2 separate regions of the Homo sapiens genome follow, and region 1 is linked to region 2. The links are contacts of gene promoters, found by promoter capture Hi-C in human tissues and cell types (Jung and others, 2019). All regions are on one chromosome and are shown on one strand. The core of a region is centred on a gene start or on the middle of the fragment in contact, and the rest is flanking DNA. Distances in the headings are between cores, read along the strand shown. Region 1 has its middle 9.2 kb from the start of GLT6D1. Region 2 holds the start of SOHLH1 (spermatogenesis and oogenesis specific basic helix-loop-helix 1).

What was found. Contacts are between HindIII fragments. The study calls those that stand out against the background at their distance.
Region 1: a contact is called between a fragment that was not itself captured here and the fragment with the promoter of SOHLH1 in region 2, in 4 of the 25 tissues and cell types used here (H1 embryonic stem cells, IMR-90 fibroblasts, dorsolateral prefrontal cortex and 1 more).

The regions. Positions count from the first base shown.
Region 1 is chr9:135,646,093-135,651,361 of GRCh38, reverse strand. No RefSeq gene overlaps it. Among named protein-coding and RNA genes, the nearest start is that of GLT6D1, 9.2 kb to the right of the region's middle. The HindIII fragment of the contact is 6,544 bases long and covers 1-5,269 here.
Region 2 is chr9:135,696,369-135,701,370 of GRCh38, reverse strand. It overlaps SOHLH1 (spermatogenesis and oogenesis specific basic helix-loop-helix 1), which reads left to right and starts at 1,890. Exons shown (of 8, transcript NM_001101677.2): 1 at 1,890-1,968; 2 at 2,245-2,376; 3 at 2,895-3,042; 4 at 3,744-3,865; 5 at 4,566-4,759. The coding sequence starts at 1,904. The HindIII fragment of the contact is 18,112 bases long and covers 1-5,002 here.

The sequences.
Region 1 (5,269 bases), core at 1,027-3,526, 50 kb after region 2:
GACCACCGTGGGCACCTGTCATCAGGACCTCCTGAGGCTGTGTCGTGGACAAATGTCCCCAACTTTGACAAAATTAACATTCTAAATTAAATGAGACCTGTCTCAGATTTTGGGGGCTCACATGGCATGTCCTTAACCTTGGCAAAAGAAACTTCTAAATTCATTGGGACCTGTCTCAGATATATTTTGGCTTACAGTCATCATTTAAAGTTATTTCCTTGTTGACCATTTTTATAGCCAGTGAATTTCAGGTGTTTACCTAAGTAAGAATCTTAAGGTTAAATAAATGAATTTTTTGGCCAATAACACAGGATTTACTGTTTTTATTAAATTAACATTAGACCAATAAATCTAAATAATAATGTATGTTGACAATTCTGAAGACATTTCTAATTTTATTTTACCAATTATTTTAAAGTTAGGTTATTTATTAAAGATTTACTGAAGTCATATGAACTTGAAAAGTATTTGCACTTATTTACTTAATTTATTGGCACTCCTTTTTTTTTAAGCCAATTTGGTACCTTGTGGTCACAACACATAACAAAACACACGCATGCACACATAAACACACCTAAGCATGCACGCGCGTACACACTCACACACATGCACACACACCACACGCACACACACATGCACACACTGACACATTTGCACACACACTCGCACATGCACACACCACACATGCACACACTCGCACACACAAAACTCACATGACACACACGTGCACACACACTCGCACACACCACACACTCGCACACGCACATGCATACATTTGCGCACACACACACCACACACTTGCACATGCACATGAACACATTCACATACATGCACACACACACTCGCACACACACCACACACATGCACACTCACACACACACTCGCACAATCACACATGTGCACGCGTGCGCGCACACACACACACAAATAAAGGTCCCATAGCTTTTGCCTTGGAATTCCAGCCAGGAGGTACCAATGCAAACTCACCAGTTTACAAAAGAACGGTTGGATGTGAATAGCGGTTTTTATCTTCGACACCAGCAGAAAGGTCCTTTAAACTAGAAAAAAAATATGTTTCATTGAGCAAAAACCACATCCTCATGTTTTTTAAATAAACTTCACCAAAAATGCATCTTACTTTCCTACTATTCTCTTAGAAACCCTAATTTCCAGCAAAAAACCTAGGATGACTTAATTTAACACAACATGACTTTAAGATTTTCAATTACTGGAGAGAATTGTGAGATTACATTTACCAAATTAATCTTACCAAAGATTACTAAAGTCATGTGAGCTGAAAGGCCTCTGGGCTAGCTTCTATTAGTCTACAAACACTTACTTTTCTTTAAGCCAACTAATTAGAGCTCTTTCATATGATTGGTAGTGAAATATTGTTTCCATGTGACACATAAACACACAGACTTAACAGACACAGACAGAGGCAAATCTTAGGGATTTAAAATGTTTCACTTGCCTGTTTTCAAAGTTTTTTTCTTCCCTACTTTATACCACTAATCTCTTGATTATCTATTCCATGTCTTAAACAATTGTTAACTAGGTAACTCTAAATTTACATCTCCAAATACATGACTTAGGTGAAGCAAGGTAAAAAATGTACATCTCAAAGGCACAGACTTGGATCTAAAAAAGGCAAGGTCTGTTATGTAAATGAAGCCATTGTCTCCCCCTTAGTTAAAGTTCCTAGTGGTTTAGACGCAGAGACAGAGATGTCCTTACAAAATGGAAATTTCCTTTAAAGACATAAATTTCCTTTACACAGAATTTTATTGAAGTGACTTAGTTTGATAGGTAGTATTTTCAGCGGAGCTTGATTAGGTCACTGGCTTTAGGGTGGAGCCCTCTAAGGAACAGAGCCAAGAAAGCATGCACAATTTTCTGATCTAAATGTGCAATGAGTGGCCCCCTGTAGTAATGACCATTTCCTGTAAACTGTCCTCAGCCTTCCCTAACGTTGTAGCTCTCATCTGCCATGACACACACCAAGGTCAAATATTCTCACAGTACAGAGTAATCTCTGGTATCTCTAAAAGTCAAAGAAGTCAAGTAATGCAATACAGGAAAGCAGAACTTTAGACCTAAGAAAAACCTGCCATGACTCTGAAAACTCCACACAGAAAGCAGAACACCCCCGCACAGGGTGAGTGGTGCCTTTATTCTGAGTTATTTAAGGATCCAAGTCATTATGATACAGGAGTGAGAAAGAAATTCAGGCAGATAAGGAGGGTAAGAGAGTCCTCAGCAAGGTTTCCTTTTAATAAAAAGCAGCCCCCAATCATTTCTTTCCTAACAAAAAGCAGCCTGAAAAATCAAGCTGCAAGTATAGATAAACAAGCTAAAAGCTTACATAGGTAAATGCTAGCAGCTGTGGTGATAGAAGAGGGATACCTGGAAGCCAAGTCTGTTCAACATGAAGGATCCCCCTTCCCTTTTCTTGGTCGCCACCTGTGTGGTAAAAGGCAGGCAATATGACACTGGCCAGGTAGAGACCCCATCTGGATAATAAAAGATTAGGGTGGGTCGGCCAGCTTCTTTGTGCACTATGCAAATGGCATGCCTAGTCTGACCAATCTCTCATGTCCTATGTAAATCAGATATTGCCTCCTCAAGCTCGTCTATAAAACCTCGTGCATTTCACCAAGGACCTGGAAGACCCACTCAGACGCCCCTCTCTCTCCGCAGGTGAGAGAGCTATCCTCTTTTCTCTTTCCTTTGCCTATTAAGCCTCTGATCTTAAACTCACTTCTTGTGTGTCTGCATCCTCAACTTCCCTGGTGTGAGATGACAAACCTCAGGTATTTACCCCAGACAACAACGCCGCTTCAATTAGAACCCTTCTGTAGACATTTTTTTCACTTGGTACCAAAGATGGCAAAAGGGCTTCCCCTTTTTGGGAGAAATAGGGTGGAAGAAAAATAAAAGAATAATTTTTTAAGAAAGGAAGCACACAGAGAAATCAAGTGAATGTTTTTTTTTTCTCTTTTGCAGCTTCAAGGAATTTTAGCCAATCCAGAGGGCTTGTTACCCATAGTGTGGAATTCTCATTCAGATTTGGCCAAGTCAGGTAGAGATGGTCAAATCCAATGGGAGAAAGACCAAAACGACAATGAAACCAAACTATATTGTTAGAAAAAAATGCTTGGTGCTGCAAAGAAAACCAGGCAGAAAATTTCTCAGCAAGGCACATTTACTTCTGCAGAAGGGTGCTGCCTGCATCAGTCACAATCGCAAGAGCACACCAAGCTGGGAGGGCAGGGGTTTTTACCCCTAATGCAGTTCCTGTTTCTGTGTCCTTTCCCCATTGGCTGATGCAGTTCCTGTTTCTGTGTCCTTTCCCCATTGGCTGGAGTTGGACTGCACAGTCTAAACTGACCCGATTGGCTAGTGTTTGAAATTGAATAAGGCCAATTATGCGGGAAGGGAGAGGCTGTTCCTTACCAACTAGGTGGGAAGAGTTGTTTACAGAGTAAGAGGTTTGCAGGTTACAGATTAAGCAGAAAAACAAGTGCTCATTACAGATTAAGCAGGAAGGGCTGTGTACAGAGCAAGAAAGACCAAAGAAGCTTTGAAGAGGAACTTATAATTTCTGGCAATATGATTACTGAGCTCTCTAATGGAAGCAGAAATGAAGACCAGGCGGTGGTCAATCTTAACTTTTAGTCATGAGGGAGAATTTTCAAGACAAAACTCCAATTCAGCTACTTACCTAGAAATGGGGCCCAGGCTGAAGACTGCTCTCTACTGTCTCAGAAACAGGAAAAGTCCCAAACTCGCCTTCCCTGTTGGAATCGAGCTGAAACTCCAGAAAAGGAGTTGCTCAGCAAAAGAAACCTCAGATCTCAACCGAATGTTGGGAGATCAGGGATTCTCTGGGGTAGAAGGGGATACTCCTGGACTTCAGCAAATCGGACTTCAGCAAATTGTCCTATTAATTTGAGCAATAAAGATAGCCCAAACTGATACTGAGCATCGATAGGAGTGTCTGCAAAAAGAATCAAACTTGGTAAAATATTTGAAGGGATTTATTCTGAGCCAAATACTAGGGACCATGGCCCATGACACAGCCCTCAGGAGGGCCTGAGAACATGTGCCCAAGGCGGTTGGTTTTATACATTTTATACAAGCTTGGTTTTATGCATTTTAAGGAGGCATGAGACATCAATCAAATACATTTAAGAAATACATTGTTTTGGACCAGAAAGGTGGACAAAGCAGGTGCTTTCAGGTTATAGGTAAATTTAAACATCTTCTGGTTGACAATTGGTTGAGTTTGTCTAAAGACCTGGGATTATAGAAAGGAAATATTCAGGTTAAGATAAAAGATTGTGGAGACCAAGGTTGTTTTAGAGTCTTATAGTGGCTGCCCTTAGAGACAATAGATGGCAAATGTTTCCTATTCAGATCTTTAAAAGGTGCTAGACTTTTAGTTAATCTCTTTAGGATTGGGAGGGCCTGGAAGAAAAAGATCTAGCTATATTAATTCAGATTATTTAGAGATGCAAATTTTCCCCCACAAAGGACAACTTTACAGGGCCATTTCAAGATATGGCAAAGAAACATGTTTTGGGGGTCAAACATTTTGATTTTCGTCCTTGTCTTACAATGTTATGCCAGAGACAGGTTGGAAAGTAAGTCACAATATATAGGGTGAAATAAAACCCAGCTAATGACAATTTATGATTTGTATGGCATGACTCCCCAGGTCCCTTAGATAGGAATTTGGGCATGATAAAAAATCAGTTTAAGGAGAATAGCTTGAACCTGGGAGGCAGAGGTTGCAGTGAGCTGAGATCGTGCCACCGCACTCCAACCTGGGTGACAGAACAAGACTCGGTCTCAAAAAAAAAAAAAAAAATCAGAGTTTAGTCCTCAGGAGATTTGTCAAAGGACCACCTCCACTCAGAGTTCCTTCTGTTGGTCACAATTTGTAAGTCAAAAAGTATCTGAGACAGGTCTTAATCAATTGAGAAGTTTATTTTGCCAATGTTAAGGAAAAGAAAACCAGAATCACAGAAACAGTCTGTGGTCTGTGTCTTTCTCCAAAGATGACTTTGAGGGCCTCAATATTTAAAAGGGAGAAGTGGGCTGGTGGGGAAAAGAAGGAGGGTGTGGTCATCCACAGGTGGCAAGAGAAAAGGAACATGTAGGGAAACAGTCAATCATATATTTGTCTTGTGCTCAGTAATCCACGCTTTTCATAAGGTCAGGTGAACATGGAGCAGCTACCTGTGAAGATACTCAACCTTTTATC
Region 2 (5,002 bases), core at 641-3,140:
GGGCCAGGGGGAGGGCCAGGTCCATTTGGAGGGCGCATGCCATGTACTTTGTGGTCCCTGGCCTCCCCAGTGTCTCTCCAGAGGGTCCTTCCCTGTTTCTCCAGGAGGCAGCAGGCTGAACACAGATGCTTTTGAGGGGTGGGTGGGGAACACTCGGGGAAGTCTAGGATGCTAAGTCCCCAGCAGAGGTTCAGCCTGTGCCCCCGCCACACAGCTCGTGGGCATCTTGGGGGTTTTTCCTCAGGTCCCTAGATTGGCCGGTGCTGCTGCCGGGGTCCCACCACCCCTGGGCGGGTGCCGCCGGGGCAAGATGGTGGCCTTTCTGCCAACGCCCTCCTGCCTGGGGAACTCAGAAAAAACTGAGAGGCCGCACCATCTGCATCTGTGATTAATTAGCAGTAATTACACGTGTTGTCAACGGCAGGAGAGTCACAGGTTTGATGACATTCCGAGGGCTTTAGGGAAACAAAAACTTGGCCCCACTCTGCCACTGAGGAGCCCCAGATCGCCAGCCCGTCCATCCCTCCCTGGCCAGGGGCAGGGCCGGGAGAGGGGCCCAGGTCCCCGAGAGCTTTTGCCCTCCTCTCCAACCCCGTCCTCCTCCATGTCTGACCTGCAGCCAAGGCTGGGCGGAGCAGGGATGGAGACACCACCTTATATTACATAACCTCCCTCTGCTCCAAACACCCTTCACCCATCTTTGGCCCAAAGTCCAGGATGCCAGCCCGAGGCCCAGAGCCGCGCCTTCTCCACAGGAGACTGGGGCACCCCGGACAGACGTCCCCGTGTGGTGGCACCTGCCCGGGCTCCTTCTTGCCTCCCCTCTCGGGAGGAGAGCCCCTGCCACCCACCCCACCTCCTCCCGCTACGACCTCAGCACGAGCCAGGCCAGGGATGTCCTCCCAACAGTCCAGCCTCACCCCCCACCCTCGTCCCCTCTGCTTCCCTGAGGGCCCCCCGCAACCTCCGTGAAAGAGGAAGGGTCTCCACCTCCCCCTTCCCTCCGTCATCCCCCCAAAAGTATGTACTGGGGGACTCAAGCCCAGCGCAGGGCGGCTCCTGGAGTTCAGCGGGGAGGTGAGCAAACACCTGGCGCCGGAGCTTTCTGAATTTGGATGGGCAGGACCCCCGCGATCCCGCAGAAACCTGTTGAGAGTGTGAGGTGAGGGGTCGAGCTGGGGCCCCAGGGCATAAAGCGGGGATGGTGCTTGGGCAGGGCCAGGTGAAGGGACAGACGGTTCCGAGGGTGCCCGGCAGAGCTCAGCGGGAGGAAGAGCACGGACGATGGTGGCCTGGGGTGGGGACAAGATGCCCCTGGTTCTGGGCGACCCAGAAGTGTGGATGGTGACCCTACCCTGAGGCGCAGCGTCTGCAAGCGTACTAGATTTGGGGGAAAATGGAGGCGTGGGCGACTGGGGAGCAGGCGGGTACCCTTCCCCCTCCCTGTGTCCCTGGGTCCCCCAGGCCTGGGCTAAACAACTCAGCCCAGCCCGCCCACTCCCACCAGGGGCTGGGCTCCTAAGGGCAGAGCCCGCATCTCCAAAGTGCCCAAGGGCACCGAGACCACCGCATAAGTGGGAACCGAGGCGACCCCCGGGAAGGTAAGGGTAGAGGCAGGGCCACCTGGGCTGGGGCCCCTTCCCCTGGCGTCCTGCGGGGGCATAGAGTGGGTGGACCCCCCGAGTCCCTTTCCAGCACCTTCTTTGCAGGAACGCGGGTCACGTGGGCCCCGGGCTGGCTGCGTGGGGAGGGCTAGAGCGCATGCGCTATGGGGGCGGATTGCAAGTGGGGGTGGGGTGGGCTAGGTGGAAAGCACGTGGCAGGTGGGCAGAGCACACGTGAGGGGGCGGGGCTGCCTGCGGAAGGGGCCGTGCGCGTGGGGTCGCTCCGCAGCTGCGAGTTCATGGCGTCCCGGTGCTCCGAGCCCTACCCGGAGGTCTCCAGAATCCCTACCGTCAGGGGATGCAAGTGAGGAATTGGGCTGGCGGCCAAGGGGTTGGGGGCCCAAGGCCTGTACCCAGGGGTTCTTCCGCAAGTTGCTGGGCTCCACCCATCCTGGGCCTCCTGGGGCGGAGCCCTGGACCCTGGGAGAGGGGAAGGGGTGCAGAGAGGGCCGGGCCGTGTCCCTACGTGACCCAGTCTTGGCTTCCACCCGCACCCCAAAGACGCCCATTCTGGCATCTGGGACTCCTGGTGGCCTTTTCTGGGGTTCTCAGGGCCCGGTGCTCTTGGCTTTCTCGGCAGCGGCTCCCTGTCTGGTGCCCTCTCCTGCTGCGAGGACTCGGCCCGGGGCTCGGGCCCGCCCAAGGCCCCTACGGTGGCCGAGGGTCCCAGCTCCTGCCTTCGGCGGAACGTGATCAGCGAGAGGGAGCGCAGGTGAGTGGTGGTGCCTCCCAGGGGTGAGGGCGCTGTAAAGGGGTGGAGCGGGTGAGATTATGTTCGGGGCTGCCACCAGGTGTCAGGCAGCTGGGAGGGGCTCGTGGCCTGTGCCCAGGAGAAGGACAGACTGCACATCTCCAAGTAAACCAGAAAAGCCCTGTTGGGGAACATCCTGCAGCCCCTCTTTATCCTGAAGCCTTGGCCTCTTGAGGCTGTGCACCTGTGACCCTCTGTGCTTCTGACTGCCTCTGACCCTCGCTGTCTTTTCCACACCGCAAAGCAGCCATGGTTTGGGCCTGGGCTGGACAGCCTGTCGCCGAGGTCCAGGGGTCAGGCCCAGGCTGTGCTCTGATGTGGATCTCGGGGCTTCAGACCACGGGGGCAGCTCTGAGTCATCTTGTAGCCCCCTCTGCCTGACAAGCGCCCAGGGTCTATCTGGCAGGTTCTAGCAGTTGCTGTCCCTTCTCGGGGAGGGCAGGAGGGCCCAGAGGTATTTGTTTCTTGACCGGAACCAGGAAGCGGATGTCGTTGAGCTGTGAGCGTCTGCGGGCCCTGCTGCCCCAGTTCGATGGCCGGCGGGAGGACATGGCCTCGGTCCTGGAGATGTCTGTGCAGTTCCTGCGGCTTGCCAGCGCCCTGGGGCCCAGTCAGGAGCAGCACGCTGTGAGTTGTAAGGGTAGACGCCGTCAGTCCTCCGGCATCACGGTGATGGGACATCTCACCACCTTGCAGGCAGTGTGTCCCCTGTCATCCCCGTCTCCTTCAGCCCTCTGGGTCTCCACGGCTAGAGCAGGCCACGTTTTCGGCAGGGCACTTCCTGATTTGTTCAAGCCTTACCTGTTGTTATTCTGTTCCTGGAAAGGAGCAAGCCTTCCTTTCCAGCCCTCCTGTGCCCCTGAGTCCTGTTCATTGATGGGTTGCCGAGATGCTCCGTGCCAATTTGGGGGAGAGTTGGGGTCTCCTGATCCTCCCTGGCTGAGCACCCCCTAGATCATTTCTCTGCACGTCTCCAAGAGAGAGGCTCCTCTCCCCTCTCCAAGGCTCTGGGGGCTCTGGCTGACCCCGTGAGTGCTGGGGCTGAGGACCTGTGTGGGGAATGAAACTGTGTTGTCATCTGTGAGGTCAGGGGTCCCAGCATTTGCAGTGAGGCCCTTGGGTATGCACAGCCTGATTCAGGAATGGTGGGGCCTTTCGGGGGTGGAACCTCAGCCTCGTTGTCAACCTGTACTCTCGCCCCCAAGTTCCAAGCGGGGACCGAGCTCACAGTGACCCTCCAGGCCCTGGGGTAGCAGTCTTGTCACCGTGTCTTGGGTTTCTCAGCTGACTGTCTCTGTCTTTGTTTTACATGTTTACTTAAATTTCAGATTCTTGCTTCCTCCAAGGAAATGTGGCACTCGTTGCAGGAGGATGTTTTACAGTTGACGTTGTCGAGTCAGATTCAAGCAGGTGTGCCAGACCCTGGGACGGGAGCGTCCAGCGGGACTCGGTTAGTGTCTCCTGGGGCCCGCTCTCCAGGGCTGGGTGACCCTGGGAGCAGCAGACCCAAAGCCCCCTGGCATGTCCTCGGGAGGGTGTGGCCTGGAGGCCCGGCTTGGCCTCCGCAGGTGGTGACCTGCCCAGGGCCCTGCCAACTCAGGTGGCCAGGTGTGAGGTGACCAACATGGGCGAGCTCCAGCAAGGGGGGAGCGCGGTCAGCAGAATTGAGGGCCTGGGCTGGTGTGGAGGTGGGAGGTGCCCGGGAGGATCTCTTCTGCTCCTGTGTGTGGGGAATTTACAGGTGGTCAGTGAGGTGTCATACTCCTCCCCATGGGCAGCTTCAGGAATGCAGTTTTCTGAAGTCAAGATAATTTGGTTCTTTTCAGAATGGCAGCTCCCCAGGTTGAAGGACTGTCTGCATCTTGTGTTTAAATGTACCCATTTTACCCCAAAGCAGGCTGGGGCATGGGACTGGTGGCTAATTAGCTGTGGAAGAATCTAGAACCGGAGGAGTTGGGCAGAGGGAAACTGGGTAGACAGCTGTGGAGCTTGGCTGGCCCAGGGCCCCTGGGCAGAGGCTGGCTTGATGCTGGGTGGTGCCTGGGGTGTCCTGGGGATGGGTCCAGCCCTCTGCTCTTGGGGTGGGTGGGGGCAGCCTTCCAGGGGGCTGGGGAATAGACCCAGGATCCTTGTCATGTTGCTCCTTCTAGAACCCCAGATGTGAAGGCGTTTCTGGAAAGTCCTTGGTCCCTGGATCCAGCGTCGGCCAGCCCAGAGCCCGTGCCGCACATCCTTGCGTCCTCCAGGCAGTGGGACCCCGCGAGCTGCACGTCCCTGGGCACGGACAAGTGTGAGGCACTGTTGGGGCTGTGCCAGGTGCGGGGTGGGCTGCCCCCTTTCTCAGGTGAGTCCTGGGTGTGCATGTGGGGTGCCTTTGGCCTGGGGAGCGGCGCCAGGCTGTGCTTTAGCCCTAAGAACAATGGGGGCTGTTTGCAAACGGGGTTCGAAGTTTTCCCAGGCCCTTGTGTTGGTGAGAAACCCACGTGTTGAGGGATGAGCTTGATTCAAGGCCCCCGGGCTGTGCCTGCTTTTGTGAAAAGGAGGACGTGTGCTCTCGGGAGGGAGGAAGTGTGGCTCGAGGAAGGGA